Linked DNA regions of Homo sapiens: all the other regions are linked to region 2. The links are contacts of gene promoters, found by promoter capture Hi-C in blood cells and fetal thymus (Javierre and others, 2016). All regions are on one chromosome and are shown on one strand. Each heading gives the region's core, a stretch centred on a gene start or on the middle of the fragment in contact. The rest is flanking DNA. Distances are from core to core; before and after follow the strand shown. Region 1 overlaps PASK (PAS domain containing serine/threonine kinase). Region 2 holds the start of ING5 (inhibitor of growth family member 5). Region 3 overlaps PASK (PAS domain containing serine/threonine kinase).

What was found. The method cuts DNA at HindIII sites, captures the fragments that hold promoters and counts their contacts. A CHiCAGO score of 5 or more calls a contact.
Region 1: a contact is called between a fragment that was not itself captured here and the fragment with the promoter of ING5 in region 2, in 1 of 17 cell types (neutrophils). The highest score is 5.7, in neutrophils.
Region 3: a fragment that was not itself captured here is called in contact with the fragment with the promoter of ING5 in region 2 in 1 of 17 cell types (neutrophils); the score reaches 6.8 in neutrophils.

Annotation. Positions count from the first base shown.
Region 1 is chr2:241,104,635-241,108,080 of GRCh38, forward strand. It overlaps PASK (PAS domain containing serine/threonine kinase), which reads right to left. Exons shown (of 18, transcript NM_015148.4): 17 at 2,719-2,865; 18 at 1,465-2,089. The coding sequence ends at 1,932. Among named protein-coding and RNA genes, the nearest start is that of MTERF4, 4.1 kb to the left of the region's middle. The HindIII fragment of the contact is 1,768 bases long and covers 1,288-3,055 here.
Region 2 is chr2:241,699,921-241,703,377 of GRCh38, forward strand. ING5 (inhibitor of growth family member 5) reads left to right here and starts at 2,119. Exons shown (of 8, transcript NM_032329.6): 1 at 2,119-2,182. The coding sequence starts at 2,146. RefSeq lists silencers at 1,413-2,232, 1,975-2,138, 2,323-2,882 and enhancers at 1,537-2,369, 2,608-3,237. The HindIII fragment of the contact is 17,390 bases long and covers 1-3,457 here.
Region 3 is chr2:241,137,406-241,141,254 of GRCh38, forward strand. It overlaps PASK (PAS domain containing serine/threonine kinase), which reads right to left. Exons shown (of 18, transcript NM_015148.4): 3 at 3,116-3,348; 4 at 2,480-2,650; 5 at 1,249-1,389; 6 at 548-682. Among named protein-coding and RNA genes, the nearest start is that of PASK, 10 kb to the right of the region's middle. RefSeq lists an enhancer at 2,449-2,949. The HindIII fragment of the contact is 1,882 bases long and covers 745-2,626 here.

The sequences.
Region 1 (3,446 bases), core at 922-3,421, 600 kb before region 2:
GAAGTCAGATGAGCTTTAATTATTTTTTCTTATAAAGAAGTAACAGTTCTTAGAAAGCTCAGACTATGCATTCTCAACCCATTAAACACCTGTCTGCAAACACCATTGTGGCCGAACGCAGTGGCTCATGCCTGTAATCCCAACATTTTGGGAGGCCGAGGCGGGCGGATCATGAGGTCAGGAGTTTGAGACCAGCCTGGCCAACATAGTGAAACCTCGTCTCTACTAAAAATACAAAAATTTAGCCAGGCGTGGTGGTGGGCACCTGTAATCCCAGCTACTTGGGAGGCTGAGGCAGAATTGCTTGAACCTGGGAGGCGGAGGTTGCAGTGAGCTGAGATCGCACCATTGCACTCCAGCCCAGGCGACAGTATAAGACTCTGTCTCTAAATAAATAAACAAACAAACAAACACCATTCTATAACATCCTCTGTGTTATAAGCACCATAAACACTACAAGGTAGGGGTTCTTAAAACATCAGAAAACTCTTTGAATTCTGAAGAGTGAACATCACTGACTTTAATACACACCTGTAAAACCCTTGTACCTTGAATGTCCCTGATAGAGGAGGGTCCTCCCCCACCAACTCCATCAGTCACTTGTGGTGGCAGCGAGGCTCAGGCAGCACTTTCTGAAGAAAGGGATGGCAATAGCCCATATCCTACTAGATGGGACTAAAATTAACTCTGATCATCCCAAAACAGTTGAGTGCCTCCTAAATAACCACTAGAAATAGCTCAGAACCACGCAGGAGGCAGCCTGGCTCCCAGGCAGCTTCCAGAGGGTTCTGGGCAGGAGTCTCAGAATGTGGAAAAACCGTCTGCAAGTGATGACATGTGGGAAAAGGGTAGGGGTTTAGGTTTTTGGTTTTTTTCCTACTGTCTCAGCAGGGGAAAAAAATGAAAGGTTCTGCTCTCACCTCTAGCTATTCCCTCCTCTCTAACACAGACATGAAATAAAACAATCCTAAGTACTTGACCTAGCCAAGTCTGTCTGAGGGGGATGGACTGGAGTCTAAGGGAGGGAAGCAGCCAGTTGAGTATCTGACAAACACCCTGGAACCTGAGCAGCTCGGAGGAATACAGGGCTGGAGCCCCTCACACAGACCAGAGGTGGGGGCTGGGCCAGGAAGCCCCTCATGTGGACAGAGGTGGGAGCTGGCTGGCCATGGGATATTTGGGGACTGCTGGCAGTGAGCCAGCCACGTGTTTGACAGCAGAGTCTTGCTACAGACAGAAGGGAGGTCCCTGAGGAAGCCACCCTCCCCCGTCTTACCAGATGGAGCAAGCTTCAGAGCCCTAGGCCCACCCCTGGCAGGGCCTGCTTGTAAAAGGAACCCCAGAATGGCCAAGGCTAGACTTCTCTCCAACTGTGGCAAGTGGGGTGCACACATGGAAAAATGAGGAAACCAGGTATTTCTCACACTTAGCACACGGGAACAGTTCACAACATCCAAGTCAGGATAACTGTTTACTAACAAAGGTGCTTTAATTTGAAAAGCATTTGAGGAAATAAATTAATGAAATAGTCTGGCCATTTGACTAACCAGTTCTACAAATTTCACATATCCGTCACTCAGATGAGCATATACCAAGTCAGAGGAAACAAAACATGCACATATACAAAAGTAGAAAGAGAAAACACTCATGCCTTCAGAAGTTCACAAATTAAAAGCCCTTTAATAATATAAAACAGTTGAACACTGGAATGTTTTTTTCTAGGTCATGAAAAAAGTGAATTCCAAATCTATGTAATAAATCTAAAATAATACAGCATCACTGTCTTCTGTTCTGGTGTTTATCAAACCTGCACATGAGTTTTTAGAAGGTGAATTGGGGATGCTTCAGAATGTATTTTCTCCAAACAGATGGAGCCTGAAAACTGTGTGATTTTCCAAACCAAGTGGAGAAAAGCAGGAAGAAATTGGTGTTTAGCTGGTCAGCAGACGGGGATCCCCGGGATGCAAACAGCCTTGGCCATTAGGAGCCTCGCCTGGAACGGGGCCCCCACAAAGCTCCTGAGCCTGGGCCACATCACTCAGGCTCCTGTTCCCCATCTCCAGGCTCGCAGCGGACAGAACTCCACTTTCTGAAGAAACAAGAAGGTAACTGTATCACGTGCTAACAACTTAAGGTTCTAAAATACTTTGCTTCTCACTTGAAGAAGTCCTAGAACAAAAGCCTAAGGTGAGGCCCTCAGAAATCCAACTGGCAATGTCCCGGAAGTACAGATCCTGCCAAGGTGGGGATCTAAGCCCAGGGCCATCAACCGCAGCTTGGTCCAAATGCTCTGAGCAGTGGTTTTGGCTCTGTGGCCAGAGCCTTGTCTGAAGAGCCCTCGGCCCCGCCGGCTGCTAGAGAATCACTCTCAGCATCTGTGGCCTCATCCTCCCCTTCGGCCCAGTCAGACCATCACCAGCTGCATTCCTCAAACCATCTTTGAGGGTTCCGACCCCTTCTGCCAGGAGCTCCCATGACACCTGCCCACCCTCCAAGGTCCAAAGCCACACCCTGAACCCCAGTGGTGTCCAGAGGCCTCGGGACAGAATCAAACCCCCTCTCACAGGTGACAGGTCAGCTATAGGCCCTGACATTTGTGTCCAAGACAGCATGGGGGAGAGAGCCTCCTTTTCCTCCTTTTGACCTAGGAAGGCAGCCTGGGGACCTCGTTATTCCAAGTGAAGTCATGTGGGGTGGAGGGATGCTGAGAAGCCTCACCTGGCTTGTTTACTCGAAACACCTCTTCCCATGTATAGTCAGCAAGATTCACAGGCTGTGTTACCCACGGGTCTGTCACCAGCTTCTCCAAGGTGGTGCGTCTCTCAGGGACTGGCTGCAGCAGCCCAGACACAAGGCTCATGAGTTCTGGGGACACAAAGAACACAGATGGTAGGTCCAGATTGGGATGAAGTGGAGCACATCTCAGATTCCTGGGTGCTCACCACCCCCCCGCAGAGCCTCTGACTGGGCAGGTGGCGGCCCAGGAACCTCTAGTGCAGGGCCCAGCTGTGCTTGGACAGAAGCTGCAGGAAACATTCATTGCCTCTGAAATGAAAGCTTGGAGTTCAAGATGCCATCCCACTCAACCAAAATCCAGGTGGTGCAGAGGTTCCTAACTGCTCTATTCTCAGGGGCTCTGGCAATGCAGAGCTGTGAATAACGCAGGGTTAACATGACAGGTGAGGGGATGCCAGCACAAGCTGAGAGAAGCCCCCAGCCTTGCATCTGGATTCGGGCCCCAGTTCCTTTAACCATGTAGGCACCAAGTCAACAGGGCCACTTGGAGCCTCCCTGTCCTGACTGCAAGTGTGTTTCTCACAAGAGGGCCTCTAAGATCCAAAGAGGAACATTAACAAAAACTAAATTATCAAGATGTTTTAAAGTCATATGCAAATTATTTGATGAATAGAAAAGAAACAAATGAGACTGTTGATATGGACAGAGAT
Region 2 (3,457 bases), core at 869-3,368:
TGCTACACAGTTTGGAGGCAGAGAAGAATCACCCCAAAGACTAATATTTAAACACTTTAAATTATTTTATTTTATATTTTAAGATGGAGTCTCGCTCTGTCACCCAGGCTGGAGTGCAGTGGCACGATCTCGGCTCACTGCAACCTCCACGTACCAGGTTCAAGTGATTCTCCTTCCTCAGCCTCCTGGGTAGCTGGGATTACAGGCACCAGCCATTATGCCCGGCTAAGTTTTTTTTTTTTTTTTTTTTTTTTGGGACGGAGTGTTGCTCTGTCGCCCAGGCTGGAGTGCAATGGCACGATCTCGGCTCACCGCAAGCTCAGCCTCCCGGGTTCACGCCATTCTCCTGCCTCGGCCGCCCGAGTAGCTGGGATTACAGGCGCCCGCCACCATGCCCAGCTAATTTTTTTGTAGTTTTAGTAGAGATGGGGTTTCACCGTGTTAGGCAGGATGGTCTCAATCTCCTGACCTCGTGATCCTCCCGCCTTGGCCTCCCAAAGTGCTGGAATTACAGGAGTGAGCCACCGCGCCTGCCCTATTTTATTTTATTTTTGAGATGGAATCTTGCTCTGCTGGCCAGGCTGGAGTGCAGTGGTGCAATCTCGGCTCACTGCAACCTCCGCCTCCCAAGCTCAAGCGATTCTCCTGTTTCAGCCTCCCGAGTATCTGGGATTACAGGTACTTGCCACCATGCCCGGCTAGTTTTTGTATTATTATTATTTTGAGACGGAGTCTTGCTCTTGTCACCCAAGCTGCAGTGCAGTTACATGATCTCTTCTCACTGCAACCTCCCTCTCCCAAGTTCAAGTAATTTTCCTGCCTCAGTCTCCGAGTAGCTGGGAGTACAGGCGCCCGCCACCACGCCCGGGTAATTTTTGTATTTTTAGTAGAGACATGATTTCGCCACGTTGGCCAGGCTGGTCTCAAATTCCTGCCCTCAAGTGATCCGCCCGCCTCGGCCTCCCAAAGTGTTGGGATTACAGGCGTGAGCCACCGTGCCGAGTCTGAAACATATTTTAATTATGTTTCTCCAGTATTTTTTTTTTCTTAAAATTTTCTTTTTTTTTTTTGAAGACAGAGTCTTGCTCTGTCGCCCAGGCTGGAGTGCAGACGCGATCTCAGCTCACTACAACCTCCGCCTCCCGGGCTCAGCCTCCGGAGTAGCTGGGACTACAGGCGTGCGCCACCACGCTTGGCTAATTTTTTTTTTTTTTTGTATTTTTAGTAGAGTCGGGGTTTCAACACGTTGGCCAGGCTGGTCTCAAATTCCTGCCCTCAAGTGATCCGCCCGCCTCGGCCTCCCAAAGTGATGGGATTACAGGCGTGCGCCAGCGCGCCGGCCTTCTCCAGTATTTTTGCATGCATCTTACGGCACACCTTTGCACGCCATCTTATTAACTATATCATACTGCCGCACGTGCCTTTTCGGCCAAGGCATCCAGATGGTGCGGGTCCTGCCTGCCTCGAGAGGTGGCAGCAAAGGAGCCAGTGCCCTCACTGGTGCTGGGCGGGGCGGCCGCTTTCCTCGGAGGGAAGGGGCGGCGTTGGCGGGGGAAGGGCGCCAGGGCCCAGGCCCTGAGGGAGGGGCAGCTCGCCCGGGCCACGCGGTGCCGGCCCTCGGCTCAGGCCGGGCTGAGGCCCCGGGGGCTCGGGGTCCGGGGGAAAGGCGCTGAGCCAGACAGGTCCCAAGGAGCCTTCGGGAAGGGAGGGCCTCGTGGCGGCCTGTCCGGGACCCGGCCGGGAGCAGGGGTCGCGTGGGCGCCGTCAGGACGGGCGTGAGGTCCCCGGGACCACGTGTTTGCGTTTGGTGGCCCAGGGGTCGCTGACAGGTGCGGAGGGGAGACGCCCACCTGGGTGCCCTGGGCCGCACGCCGGGCGGTGGGGCCGGGAACCCCTGCTCCTCCTCGGCCTCCGATCCGCTGCGGCCCTGGGTCCTGCTCGCTGCCCGACGCCGCTGCCACAACCTCCGCCCGGGCCCCGCAGCCCGCCGCCCGCCGGAAGCTGAAAGGCGTGTCCGACCCCGCCCCCGGGCGCGACCAATCAGCGCGCGCGACTCATGAATAGTGAGCGCGCTGGCACCGCCCCGCCCCCGCCTCCCGCGGCACCGCCCGCCCGCGCAGACCCCGAGCGCGGCCGCGGACGAAGATGGCGACCGCCATGTACTTGGAGCACTATCTGGACAGTAAGCGCGCCCCACGGGCCCCGCGCCCGCCGCCCACGCGGAGTCCTCCGTGCCGCAGCCCCCCGCGCGCCGGGCACCGCATGCAGACCCCGTGGGCTCGGGAGGGCGGCGGGCGCGGCCGGGCGCGACGGGGGGCGCGCGGACGGGGCGGGGCAGGGCCGCAAGGGAGGGGAGGGCGCGGGGGGCGGGCGCGGGGGGTCCCGCCGGCTGGGTCGCGCCAATTCCAGGTGCGTCACGGCGGGGCGGGGCCTGGCGATGCTGGGCGGGGCTTGCGGCCTCGACCCCGCCCACATATTAGGTCCCGCCCCTACCCAGGCCCCGCCTCATCTCCGCCCCCAGCTCCGGCCCCGGCCCCGCCAGGTCCCGCCCGTCCCTGTCCCGTCTGCAGGAGGAGCTGGCGCCCGCTGCGGGGCTCCGGGCCTTGGGGGCTCCGGGGTCTGGGCCTCCGCCTGGCTGTGCGCCCGTGTGCGCCGGCCTCTTGTGTGACCGCGGCTGGGGAGGGCGTGCGGGCCGCGGGGCGTCTCTCCCCGGCACTGGGGACTGCGGCGCGGAGGCGGGGAGGGCGGTGCCGAGTCGGCCCTGGTGGGCGGGCTGTGCTGTTTCCAGGTGGCAGCAGGTCGGCGCCCCCAGCGGCTGAGCGGACGGTGCTTTCCCTCACTTTACACACCAGGGAAGGTCCAGCGCTGCCGAGCAGCCTGCTCAGGGTCTCCCGCTCGTAGAGGGGCAGACCCCACGCGGGACCCCTGACGTCGGCCCGGGATGGGCACAGCTTTGGGGTCGCGGTGTTTGGGGTTGTGCCGGGTGGCTCTGGAGGGCCCTTGTGGGGGCGCTGCACTGGGGATCCTCATGGTCTTCGGCCTGGCACCCGCCCAGGGGCTGAGACAGTGGCGAGTGAGCCGTGGCCTGGAGCTGGAGACCGCTGCCCTAGAGGGACGCCCGATTCTGCCCATGTGCTCCGCTGTCTCTTGGGGGTCTGAGTAGTGGGGGGTTCCCTGGGTAGAAGAGTCAAGCTGGGGAGCACGCTGGAGGGGAGGCCTTCTCTATCCTGGTGCCCAGCCAGTGGGCTGGCCTCCCAAGGAGGGTTGACTTTGTGTGTGTCTGGGAGGCTGTGCCAGCCGGGAGGCTGTGCCTCTGTCCTCTAGGGGAGCTGGGAAAACACTGGGGCTGGAAGCATCAGATGCATAAGATAGAGTTAGGTTTAAAATGATTGCCTGGTAACTGTGAACAGCAGATGGGAGGGTGGCCAAGACTGGAGGAGGCAGCCCCCCTTAGGAG
Region 3 (3,849 bases), core at 436-2,935, 560 kb before region 2:
CCCTCTCCTCCCAGGCCCAGCTGGCCCAGGAAAGAGCCCTTCTGTGGGTGGGGAGGACTCAGTGTCCAGAGCCGCCCCAGGCACAGCAACCCCAGGGCAAGTGAGACACCCCAGTGAGGGGCCGGGCACCAGCAGGGAGGGAGGGAGGGAGGACTGTGGGGCTCAGGCTCGGGGCTCAGCCACGCCACTGGCAACTGTGCCATCCTTGATCTGGCACCAGGATACTGGCCCCACAGGCAGCACTACACCAGCTGCGCAGCTGTGGATGTTACCTCCCACCCCTCAGCCTTGGGCAGCGTCCCAGCATCCACCTCTGTGGGTGGCCCAGCTCCTGGGAGAAGACTCAGGGGACAAGAGTGGTCAGCTGGGAGACCACATAGGCTCCGGCCCTTGGTCAAGGCCTCAGCGCACAGGAAGCTCAAAACTGAGCATGTCCCACCCCTAAGGCCACCCTTGCCTTCAGAAACCCTTGGTCTGCGTCTCCAGTTATGGATTCAGAGCTAAGAACTCCACCCCATCACACAGTGCGGGAGGTCAGGAGCCCTACCTTTGGGATGTGCTGGCCAGAAGGAGGGAGCTGCACAGAAGGGATCAGGTCTGTGATATGCTGCCCAGCCACGTCCTCCCCAGACACGTACCCGTGAAGATGAGCAAAGAGACTGTCACATGACGTGACGGTGCCCTGGAGGAAAAGCCCCGTGCTTATCATAAAAGCTTCTTGTGCTCCAGCTGTAAATTTAACTAAGCTTCAATATGTTCAAGCCAAAAGCAAGACCCCAACATGACTTCTCCATCGGAAGGGCAAGAGACATATACACATGAATTTGATAAGAGCTTCATCATCTGTCTCCTTCTACCAGAGACGTACCTAAATTGTGGGCCTTCTTGTTCTTCAGGAGCCTGGCCCACACCACAGCTCATTAATAACATCCCAGTTCACATATGAGGGCTGTCTCTAATGCCAGCTACTATCCTGGGGGGTTTACATATATTATCTCATTTAAATGTTGAAACAATCTTATGAGGAGTTATGATTATGCCCCAGTTCACAGGTGAGGAACTGAAGTATAGGAAGTTCGTTCCCTGCCCAAGCACACGCAATCAGCGAGGGTACCACTGGGCAGACCCTCCAGGCTCCTCATCCTCTCTTTCTTCCCAAAGGAATGAGACAGGGACCAGCACTTGCTGAAGAGGAGAACGACGCCGGCTCCAGCGTCCATGAGACATGAGGCAAAGTTGCACACTCACATCGCTCTGGAAAGCGACCCAGGTCGAGACCCTCTCCACGGGCTCCAGGACCACCACGCAGCATAGGCGGCGCTCCTGCCGCATCCTCTTCATCCACACAGACACTGGAATCTTCTCCCCACTACGGCTGATGATGTCCACCTGTGGAAACAGACAGGTTCACACCTGCATGCCATGAACCCAAAAGACCAGTATGGGTGGGGCACCTGCCTCCAGGAGGCCCAAACTCCAGGCACTGCAACGTTTTCAACTTCTGCTTACCTGATTTTCATTTCAGAAATTTACCAAAGCACAAACAAGATTTCCCATACTGAACATTAAAATCTCCAAGTGCAAGTTTTATCAAGAGAGTAGATTTCATTCTCAGTTCATGGTAATATTGCAGGGTGAAAAAAGCAGTATCTGTTATTTCTTAAAGAAACAGACACCAACACATGGTGAATATCTTAGTTTTTTTCTTCTTAGTAGTCAGTTTCTTGAACCAGTGATTTTCTGATACAATTGGTCCTAAGCCTGTGACATCAGTTCAGTTCAAGCAATGGGGTCTTCTGTGTGAAAGCCACACACTAGGTGGGAAACAGGCAACCTGGAGGATCTGGATGACTACTAGAGCCTCAGATCATACCCCAACCTCCACTGCCCTCCAACGCTACTCCCCCAGTCCCCGACCGGCTGACGAGGGGAAACCCTACAATCAGCCATGCCTTGGGCTTTTTCCATGCCTTGGGCTCAGTCCTCCACATCCAACTCAGCTCACCTGTCAACATCCAGGTTGGACACATGGCACAGGTGAGAGAATCAACACTGTCTAGGGAAATGCTTCCAGGCCAACACCCCCGCCCGCTCCCACAAACACCAAACAGAATGTAAAAATCAATAGACAATAAAACCATATTACTCTTGAGCATCTGATGTGCTGCCCGGCAGGACTGCAAAACATTAGTGAAGCTACAGCCCTCAGACAAAGCAAGGGCCACCCACGACACCTCCCAGGAGTCCAGCCACAGCCACAGTGTCCATTCCTGCGATGATTCGTTCTTAAAGGGCCCCCACCCCCACTGCAGCTGAAGCGGGGAAACGGCGCCTGGGATGACATTTTCAGCTGAAGAAGCTGAGATGTCCTGGTGCCACCCAACCCCCAGCAGAGCTCCTGGTAGGGAACACTGAGCTGTTCCTGCCACACACTGCTGGTCTTGAGGCCAGACTGAACGCTGCACCCGCATCCACTCACCACCGTGCCAAACACCACCGCAGCGTGGCCGTCGGCCTCCATGTGCTCCTCGCTGAGGGCCTCCACCACATCAGAATCTGACCTCAGAAAGAACTGCGTGAGCTTCTGGCCAATCAGGTCCTGGCTGCTGTACCCCAGGAGCCCGCAAGCTTTGTCGTTAGCAACCAGGATCTGAGGAATCACAAAGAGGAGCAAGGATGCAGACATCCCCAGCAGCTCCACCAGCTGCCCAGAACAGCCCAGGACGACCATGCAGAAGCCAGCCTTTTCCTGACAGACAGGGTCTCACTCTGTTGCCCAGGCTGGAGTGCAGTGGCGCAATCAGAGCTCACTGCAGCGGCGCAATCAGAGCTCACTGCAACCTTGAACTCCTGGGTTCAAGTGATCCTCCTGCCTCAGCCTCCCTGGTAGCTGGGACTACAGGTGTGTGCCACCGCACCTGGCTAATTTCTTTGTAGAGATGGGATCTTGCTATGTTGCCCAGGCTGGTCTTGAACTCCTGGGCTCAAGCAAACTTCCCACCTCCCGAAGTGCCCAAATGTTTTTCTAATTGCATTAAAACACACAAATCCCAGGTTTAAGGCACAAACCACAAATCCACATCTACACAGCTGGATCTAAAAGAGAAGCAAATACCTCTGTGGTCTTGGCATCCACCGTGAAGATGGCCTTGTTAGGGTTGCACACAGGGGCCGGAAGCAGAGGTGAGGACCACCCTGAGGACAGTCCCCGCAGCAGGGAGCAGCAGGACACACTGCCCCGCGGTTCGGACGGGTCCGTGTGCTCAGGGGCAGCAGGGCAGTGCAGTTTACTTGTACAAATATTCTGGGCAGCCAGTGATGATAGACAATAGGAGCTCCATCTGTCTTCTGAAAAGAGAAGCGAAGCGAAGCTTTAGACTTCACACAGCTGCCAGAGTCCACCTTCTGAAACAGGCAAAGCACACAGCCCTTGCCCTCAACTCCTGCAAAAAGATCTAAGGATTAAGTCAGTCTGCACAGCTAACACACACTCTCACTGCGTGTCTGAACATGGTCCCCAGAATCCACTTAGGCAACCACCAGGTCCACTCGGAAGCACAAACAGCATAAGATCAACACTTCTGTGTCTAAATTACACTCAAAGCCAGGCGTGCCTATAATCCCAGTTCTTTGGAAGGCTGAGGCAGGAAGGTTGCTTGAGTTCAGGAGTTCAAGACCAGCCTGGACAACACAGCGAGACCCTGTCCCTACTAAAAATAAAATTTGTAAAAATCAGTTGGGCATAGTGGCGTGCCCTTGCAGCCCCATCTACTCAGGAGGCTAAGGCAGGAGGATTGCCTGAGCCCAGGAGTTTGAGACTGCAGCGAGCTATGACTGCGCCACTGCACT